Regions from separate parts of the Homo sapiens genome. Here all the other regions are linked to region 1. The links are contacts of gene promoters, found by promoter capture Hi-C in blood cells and fetal thymus (Javierre and others, 2016). All regions are on one chromosome and are shown on one strand. Each heading gives the region's core, a stretch centred on a gene start or on the middle of the fragment in contact. The rest is flanking DNA. Distances are from core to core; before and after follow the strand shown.

Region 1 (2,711 bases), core at 102-2,601:
ACATCTGGCTAATTTATTTCTATTTTTATTTTTTGAGAGACAGGGTGGCTATGGTGCCCAGGCTGGTCTTGAACTTCTGGCCTCAAGCTATCCTCCTGCTTCAGCCTCCCAAGTAGCTGGGATTTGCTTGCTCTTTTTAGCTAGGTCTGTGATGTGGTGGGAGCAGTCACCATGCAGGTCTCAAGAAAGGATTTTGGTATAAAGGGATTGCCATGGCCACAGATGACCAGAAGTAATTACAGCATCCTGTCTCCTGCACCAGTGCTTCCACACAGCTTAAGTAAAAGGGTCAAAACTGTAACCTGATTCTGCTACTTACGCATGGCACAACTGTAGGGAGTTGAAATGTTTTTATTCATCACGAAGACAGTACCGGGGTCAGTTTTCCCAACATGCTTAACTTCTATCTTCTCAGTTCGGGGAGTTAATGATAACTGCCTGGCTTTCTCTTTATTAAAGAGATCATTCCGCATTTCTGTCAATTCTGTCGGTGACAGCTGAGAAGCTGACGATGTTGCTATAAATCCTGTGGAGAAGTTACAATAAATATGAAGACTGAAAAAATGATTAACGTACTGCCAAAAGTGCGCTCAGAGGTAAAATTAAACCAATTTGTAATATTAACAAACACCAGCGGAAGAAACAGAGCTGGCCCAGATACGTGCCTCTACTTTTAAATTTGGCTCTTTCACATCAGATCGCTATTTCCCACCAATTTCCTGTGTCGTGTTTCCAATCAGTGCTTTACAATAAGGGGCAAAAAGTAACCAGGAAACGGAGTCAAAACTGGACTAGAGTCATTGGGAAGGTGAACAAAGTGGTCGGTTTGACAGGGTCTGAAGAAAAACAAGAAAATTTCAGGAAACCAAAGGTCCCACACCGAAACTATCAATATCCAGAATGAGAAATGCTGAGTTTATATCCCAAAGGCCAAATCAGGGAACCTGCCAAGGCAAGTACGAGTATTCCTTGGGAAGACATGGACAGATGTGCACGGAACGTGCGCTGCTTCCCAGAGGCGGGCCCAAGCTCCTCCCGCGGCCTGGCTCCGACCCCTGGCCCCGACCCCTGCCCTTGCCCCTGCCCTCCGCCAGACCCTCGTTCCCATAAATTAGTCCTCCCAAGCTGTGCAAGAGCGACCGCCGCGGAGGGACTAAGAAACCCTCCTCCTTCCTCTGCCCCGCGGGACCTCCCCGGCCCCGCCTCAGACCCAATCTAGACAGACACCACTATCTAGGCCTCGCTCCCTGTCCCTACGGCCTCTGAAACTCACTCCATTTGATCCCGCCACCGGGTGCGACCAGCCAGAGCCGCAGCGCCCGGGAACCCATGGCCAGCGCCTCCATAGCAGCGGTGAGAACCGTCGCGCGCAAGTCCTTCTCCGCCCTCCTCCCCCGGAAACCGAACGCGCACTCGGAGTTCCGCAGGACAGGTCTGTTCCGGACCCAGCACTCAGACTGCTCGCCTCCACCGGGGGGCGTCAGGCCTCGCTGGGGATTCAGTGGCTGAGACCCCGAGACTCGGAGCCGGGGCGCGTTACCTGTGCTCGATACCTGGGCGCGGTCACCTACCCAGAGGTGCAGGGCCCCCAGGGCGGTCGGCCTGCCGCCCACCACGTAGGCTCTGCAGGGAAACAGAGTTCCACAGGCGTCGTTGCCCTCCGCCTTCAGCCCTCCGCGGGTTCGATCCCGGCCACCCAGGTGAAGCGCTTGCTTCCCTAAAAGAATATATGGTTTTCTTGGCGGGGGCGGGGGTGGGGGGGAATGGGGAAGGCGTCTTCTATTTTGTCAGCGATGACATCCTCTAGCGCGTGGCTTAACTTTCAATTGTGCCGGGTAGGTTCTTAGTTCGGCTGGAGTGGGTCTGCACCCCGGTTCTCCCCTTAGCTGTGGTAATAGAGGCCTCGGAACACGTCCCCTTGACTTTGGAGAGGACGTTGTAATTCCTAAGAGCTCTTTACAAATTTTCTAGTTTAGTTTATATAGTATAGGATGTATAGGAGAAGGCATCCCGGGGCAGAATTTTTGTCTCTAGTTCACTGATGTATCCCAAGCGCCCAGAACAGAGCACAGCGCAGTCAGCGCTCAACAGATGTTTCTTGAATGAATGAATGAATGAATGCCCTTGCAGGCAAACTTCAGCTCATTGTCTAATTTTTCTGTCCTACCAGGACGTGAGTGTTATTTGAAGTAAGCACTCTGTAGGTACAGGATGGAAATATTTTCATTTACAGTAGTTTAATTCTGTGGCTTTACTTAAGGGTGTCGAATTCAGCCTTTCCCCCACTCTGTCCTTTGCCTTGCAATTGGAATGCGCCGCCACCAGGTGGAAGTGCCGCCTAAGGTACAAATATGACCCTGCGCCACGATAGATCGACCGTCTCCTTGGCCCAAATGTTACACTCACAACCACTGCGCCAGGAAAGTGTAAGTATCTTCACTTTTTAAAATGGGAAATGTAAGTGACGGAGCTTGGATTTACATCCAGTCTACATTTTACCAGGCTACATTTCATTTAAGATCCTAATTCAAACCACGAAATGTACATATATACATATAGTGTTGGAGGGCGGGTGTATCTTTTGCTTCCTCAAATTTGCATACAGTTCCCATGAAAGCTGTCTGTTTCATCGGCCTTTTAGAGCCTGTACCCATTTAACCTTACCTAGAAACACTCTAGTGCCCTTAGAACATCTTAGAGCCACATTTAAG
Region 2 (3,051 bases), core at 431-2,930, 130 kb after region 1:
TCCCTGCTAACTGCTCTCGTTATTTAATTTTCTGACATTTGCCGCCGCCGCCGCCCCCTGCCCCCAACACACACATGGTATAAAGTGGTAGTTTCTTGTTTTAAATTGAACTTTTGAATGATTTGAATTTGGGCATTTCTTTGTATCCTGAGTTATTTTGGTTTCCCGTTATGTGAATATCCTTTTCCTATGCTTTAACTACTTTTCTAATTTGTCCCTTTTTTTGGTTATCAAATTCCAGGCCATTGTCTATTCCATCGTCACTTTTGGGTATTGGAAACATCTTTCCATTCTGTAGCCTGTCTGTTGAACATAAATCTTGATTTTTATGTAATCAGATTTTTCTCCTTACGGTTATGTTCTTGGAATTTTATTTAAGAAATCTTTTTCTATCCTGAGACCACAAAAATGTCCCCACCATTTTCTTCTGTTTCATAGTTTTGCCTTGTATGTTTAATCCTTTAAGGCATGTGTAGTTCATTTTATATGGTGTGAAATAGTTCTTATTCATTTATTCAACACATATTGGTGGAGTGCCTGCTGAAGGTAGTACTCTTCAGAGTACTTTGTATATATTTGTGAACACATATTCTTGCCCTGGAAGCTTATGTTGTCCTTCAAGGTAGATCCCTACTCGGTTTCCACCTGTTTTCTTCAGCCCTCAGGATGAATTCCACAATTTTACACATAGCACCAGTTAAGGAATAGGCTTTATTGGAGAAAAGGAAGGCTTATTAGACCAGCATCAGCAAGAAAAAAAAAAACCAAAAACAGAGGGTCTTCATTTCTTCATCATCCCCAAAAAAGCCTGCTGGAGCCTGCGCATTCTGCTAGATATGCACGTGAACAGAATCTGCGCAGTCGGCTAGATGTGCTTGTGAACGGAGCCTGCGCAGTCTGCTCCATATGCATGCGTCCATCCCAGTGGAGAACCTTACCCTTTTATTGTTCGTCCTTAAAGGGCAAGCCTGAGAGCAACCTTAATTACGTGGGAAAAATTAGATCATTTTGTATCAGGCAGTCTAGATTTGGGTGCCAGCTATTTGTCAGAAAACCAGCTACCCCATAGTTGGAGATATTGAGAACTTAGGAGAGTTATAGCCCTTTCTAAAGTGGGAAGGGAGACTCAGTTTCTTAATGCTAGTGTAACAAATTATGCAAATTTAGTGGCTTAAAAACACCACCTGTTTATTATCTTACAGTTTTGGAGTCAGAAATATGAAGTAGGTCTCTGGGCTAAAATGAGGTGTTGCCAGTGCTGTTTTTCTAGAGCCTTCGAGGGAGAATCCGTTCCTTGTCTAGCTTTCAGAAGCTACCTGCATTCCTTGGCTCAAAGCTCCTTTCCTCCATCTTCAAAGCCAGTCACAGCTAACCGGCAGATCTTCACATTGAATCACTCTGGCTCTCTCTTCCAATTTCCTCTTCTACTTTTAAGGACCTTCTACTTTTATTTATTTGTTTCAAGAGATAGGGTCTCGCTGTTGCCCAGGAGGGAGTGCAGTGGCACGATCATCATTGACTGCAGCCTCGACTCCTGGTCTCAAGCGATCTTCTCACTTCAGCCTCCCAAGTAGCTAGGACAACAGTTGCACACCACCATGCCTGGCTAATTTTAAAAATGTTTTTATAGGAGACAGGTTCTTTTTATGTTGCCCAGGCTGGTCTTGAACTCATGGGTTCAAACAGTCCTCTCTCCTCGATCTCCCAGAGTATTAGGATTACAGGCATGAGGCACCGTATCTGGCCCTAGCTGCGTTTTAAAAACGATCACACTCTGGCCGTTGTATTGACTGAGAATAGACTGTGAGGGGACAAGAGTGGACACAGGGACCCCCTTTAGGAGATTGTTGCAGTACTCCAGGTAAGGGGTGGTGGTGGCTGTTGTACTGATATACGCAATACAGAGCCTATATTTGGACAACCATGGTTCATCCCCATCTGGAATGATACCTACTTAGGTTGATACACCAAAACTGTGACATGGAGCCACAAGTGGTTTAGCCTCACCTCTGAATAGCGTTCGTATGAGATGGAGCTCAAAATAAGATTGCTCTATGCAAAGCATTTGAATGCAGTGCCTGATGCTCGGCGAGTAATGGTTAATACAAATGAACATTTAAATTCTTCATTTAGTGAAATCTTGTAAGTGGGAGCACAACTCTTTTGTAAATGTCGAAATACCAAATTTAGTGGAGCGTTCCTTTTAAAGGTACGCCTCTTTTTAGATGTGGTAGTACGCTTAGAATAACTACTCAGAAGGTGCTGTGGACTGAAAGTGCGTATGGAATTCAAAGACATTCATTGACCTACTGCGAGGTAGTTAATAACAGAACCTGGTACTTAACAGTATTAACACCTCAGACATGTCCACAAAGAAATATCTATGTATATTAGCTATTTGTGTATTCTTTAGCATTTTTAAAATTCTAATGTTTTTGTATCAGTGGTTTTAAGCAATAGATAAAAATTTTACATGGGATAATTAAAAACTGAAGTAGTGGTCTGTTTAAAATAAAACCACCTCTGAAAAAATCATTAAAAATTTTCTACTGTGTGTAATCAGGGAAATAATGTGCATATCTGTAATTTGTTACTTTGTTTTGCTGTTTTATAATATTCTTGCATTTATAAGAGACATCATTTGTACCAAATCCTAGCTGATTAATTTGCATATCATTGTATCAGTGTGATACTTTGCAGTAAATTCTGCTACTAAGGTACAACTTTCAGCTGAATAAACATAGTTCATCTCCATGTTAAGCTTCAGGTTTGAATCTGTTATTGAGACTGAGTTGCTTTAATATAGTTAACAGACCCTTAACTTAATTTTGAGGTAACTTGTTGATTGCAATTGGTCCCGAAAACATCTCAGTAAATCCAGTAGATTAATGAAGTTGTCATGTCAGGTTAATAAACACCAGTTTTTTAAAAAATTAGTTTATAAATGTCATTTGTGGATTTTCTTTATTTTATTTTTCAAACAGGGTCTCTTGTCGCCCATACTGGAGTGCAGTGGTGCGATCATGGCTCACTGCAGCCTCAGCCTCCTGG
Region 3 (2,841 bases), core at 73-2,572, 210 kb before region 1:
AGCCTATGAAGGGAAGGGAGGGGAAGCAGGATTATGCAGAAGCCACTCTGGGATGCAGGTTCCTCCAAGATGATCCATGTGCTTTGTTTCCTCAGAAAATAATACACTGGAAACACTTTGGGGCCTTTTGTTTTTTTTTTTGAGACCGAGTCTTGCTCTGTTACCCAGGCTAGAGTGCAATGGCGCAATCTTGGCTCACTGCAACCTCCACCTCCTGGGTTCAAGCAGTTCTCCTGCCTCAGCCTCCCAAGTAGCAGTGATTACAGCTCACGCCACCATGCCTGGCTAATTTTTTTTTTATTATTATTTGTTGGCTAGGCTGGTCTCGAACTCCTGATCTCAGGTGATCCACCTGCCTCGGCCTCCCAAAGTAGGGGACATTGTTTTTAAAAAGTTAAAGGATACAAAATTAAAAAGCTAGATAGGAGGAATAGGTTCTAGTGCTCTACACTACTGTAGGATGATTATATTGAATAATAATTAACAGTAGAGTTTCAAATAACTAAAAGAAGGATATTGAATGTTCCCAATATGAAGCAATGATAAATGCTTGATGACAGATATGCTAATTACCCTGATCTAAGCACCATATATTATATGTATCAAAATATCAATATGTACCCCACAAACATGTACAGTTATTGTGTGTCGATGTTAAAAAGAAAAAAGAAAAATAGTTTGGATGGATCCTCAAAATGTTCTATCTCATTCAGCTTCCATAAGTGACATTTATTAAAAGTTTTTGATTAAAAAGGAAACTTTTTATGAATTATGATTGTGACAAAGATTCTGTGCTTGACCAAACTTTGGTCCAGCTTGTGAATGTTCTCCGAGGCCTATCTGTGCACTTTCTTATAAAACACGGTTTTAGAAGAACCCTGCTAACTTTAGCAAGAACCCTCCATCCTTGATATCTGATCAGGTTCCTAACCCTCCACCATCCCCCAGATGATATCTGATCATCCTGGTCTATCCTCAGCAAGAATCTAATTAGTTCAGTTTGGCCAGAATCCTGCTTACTCCTGGTGTTATTTCTTAGCAATTTTTCATGCATGACTCCCGCCTTGCACCTTGGCTATAAATTCCCTCTTGCCAATACTGTATTTGGAATTAAGCCCAATCTTTCTCCCCACGGAAAAATCCCGCTGCAATGGTCCCCATATTATAATGGTCCTGGATAAACTGCCTGTTTATTTGAAGTATGGTAGTACTTTAAAGTGTCATTGAGTTTTTTTTCTTTAACCATTATTAGGGAAATACACCAAAATGTTAACATTGGTTGTATTTTTTCTGCTTCTATGTACTTGTCTTCATTTACCTGTTATCAAGAGTAAGCATGTATAACTCTTAAGGAAGTTATAATTATACAATAAAAACCCAACACCAAAAGGGGTGAGACAAGTGTTTATGGGGCAAAGAGTGTGAAATGAGAAAGTTTGGATCTAAAAAATTAAAAATTAACAATGGTTTATTTTGATTGACTGGAATTATAAATAATTTTATTTCCAAATTTCTTTCTTTCTTTTTTTTTTAATGGAGTCTTACTCTGTCTCCCAGGCTGGAGTGCAGTGGTGCAATTTTGGCTCACTGCAGCCTCCACCTCCCGGATTCAAGCGATTCTCCTGCCTCAGTCTCCAGAGTAGCTGGGATTACAGGCAACTGCCACCACGCCCAGCTAATTTTTGTATTTTTAGTAGAGACAGAGTTTCACCATGTTGGCCAGGCTGGTCTCAAACTCCTCACCTCAAGTGAACCGCCCTCCTCAGCCTCCCAAAGTGCTGGGGTTACAGGCATAAGCCACCGCGCCCAGCCTACTTTTCCAAATTTCTTATAGAGAGGAGTTATTACCTTTATCATGGGGAAAAAAGCAAGTCCTTCAAACACTTTTGATCTTAAAATATATTTAAAATATAAAATAATGAACCTGGTGGAGACGTTAACCTTGGGTAGCTGACACAGGTACTTCTCCAAGGAGAGAAATAAACAGTTGACATAGCTTTAAGTCTTCCTAAACTCAGGTTGCAATAGGAGCAGTACAGTTTGCTGAGAGGGACAGTGAACAGCAGTATTCGGAATAGAGGAGCGGCCTCCAGTACAATGACTAGTTAGAGGTTCTTTCGGGGATTCTCAGGGTTTCTGAAAGTGGAAATGCCTCTTCATCTGGAGCACTTTTGAAAGGGACCTCGATCTATCTTTCCTCCATGCAGGGGGCTTTCCAAACACATCATATGAAAATTACAGCAAGTGGCATCTGTCCTGTTAACATCCCTCTCCCCATGAGTCATTCAGGTGTTCATCACACCCACAGACCCTCCACTCACACCACCATCTCCCACCATCAAAATTATTCGTACCAGTGTGACTAGAGGCCTGCTGGATTCTCCCCTCATCCACTCAGAGGATGTCTCTTAGAAACCATGCCAAGCAGGGTGCGAACCATCCAACTCCAAGCAAAGCCTGTGCTGCCGCAACTCTGCCTCACGGACTCAAAGACTGTCACTGGTGGTCACAGAATTAGTCAACAGGAACTTGACTGTACTGGGGGAAGTTTTCCAGGCCTCATCTCATCTCTCAGTTCCAAAGAGCTAATCTGAGAAATAAATTAAACCTTTTACAGTATTGCTGCTGTAAAATCAAAAGGAAAATCATAAATGTTGTAGAAATTGCAATCTTGATGCCATTTAAAATGCCATATCTTTTCAGTCAACGCAATGCCTAGGTTATATTTTTCTCCTTTAAATCAAGTAGGCCACTTAAAGAGATAATCTGAATATGAATACATTCTACATTATAACACAGAAGAGATAGAGATTAAATGGATTTTTAAAATTTTAGAAACTT

Evidence for each region. The method cuts DNA at HindIII sites, captures the fragments that hold promoters and counts their contacts. A CHiCAGO score of 5 or more calls a contact.
Region 2: a contact is called between a fragment that was not itself captured here and the fragment with the promoter of MRPL39 in region 1, in 8 of 17 cell types (naive CD8 T cells, non-activated CD4 T cells, naive CD4 T cells and 5 more). The highest score is 11.4, in naive CD8 T cells.
Region 3: a contact is called between a fragment that was not itself captured here and the fragment with the promoter of MRPL39 in region 1, in 1 of 17 cell types (activated CD4 T cells). The highest score is 5.2, in activated CD4 T cells.

Annotation. Positions count from the first base shown.
Region 1 is chr21:25,606,130-25,608,840 of GRCh38, forward strand. It overlaps MRPL39 (mitochondrial ribosomal protein L39), which reads right to left and starts at 1,352. Exons shown (of 10, transcript NM_017446.4): 1 at 1,274-1,352; 2 at 320-526. The coding sequence starts at 1,346. RefSeq lists an enhancer at 1,297-1,416 and a silencer at 2,397-2,456. The HindIII fragment of the contact is 17,691 bases long and covers 1-2,711 here.
Region 2 is chr21:25,738,172-25,741,222 of GRCh38, forward strand. All of the region lies in intron 1 of GABPA (GA binding protein transcription factor subunit alpha), which reads left to right. Among named protein-coding and RNA genes, the nearest start is that of GABPA, 4.7 kb to the left of the region's middle. The HindIII fragment of the contact is 2,157 bases long and covers 603-2,759 here.
Region 3 is chr21:25,394,095-25,396,935 of GRCh38, forward strand. All of the region lies in intron 4 of LINC00158 (long intergenic non-protein coding RNA 158), which reads right to left. Among named protein-coding and RNA genes, the nearest start is that of LINC00158, 36 kb to the right of the region's middle. The HindIII fragment of the contact is 3,774 bases long and covers 1-2,841 here.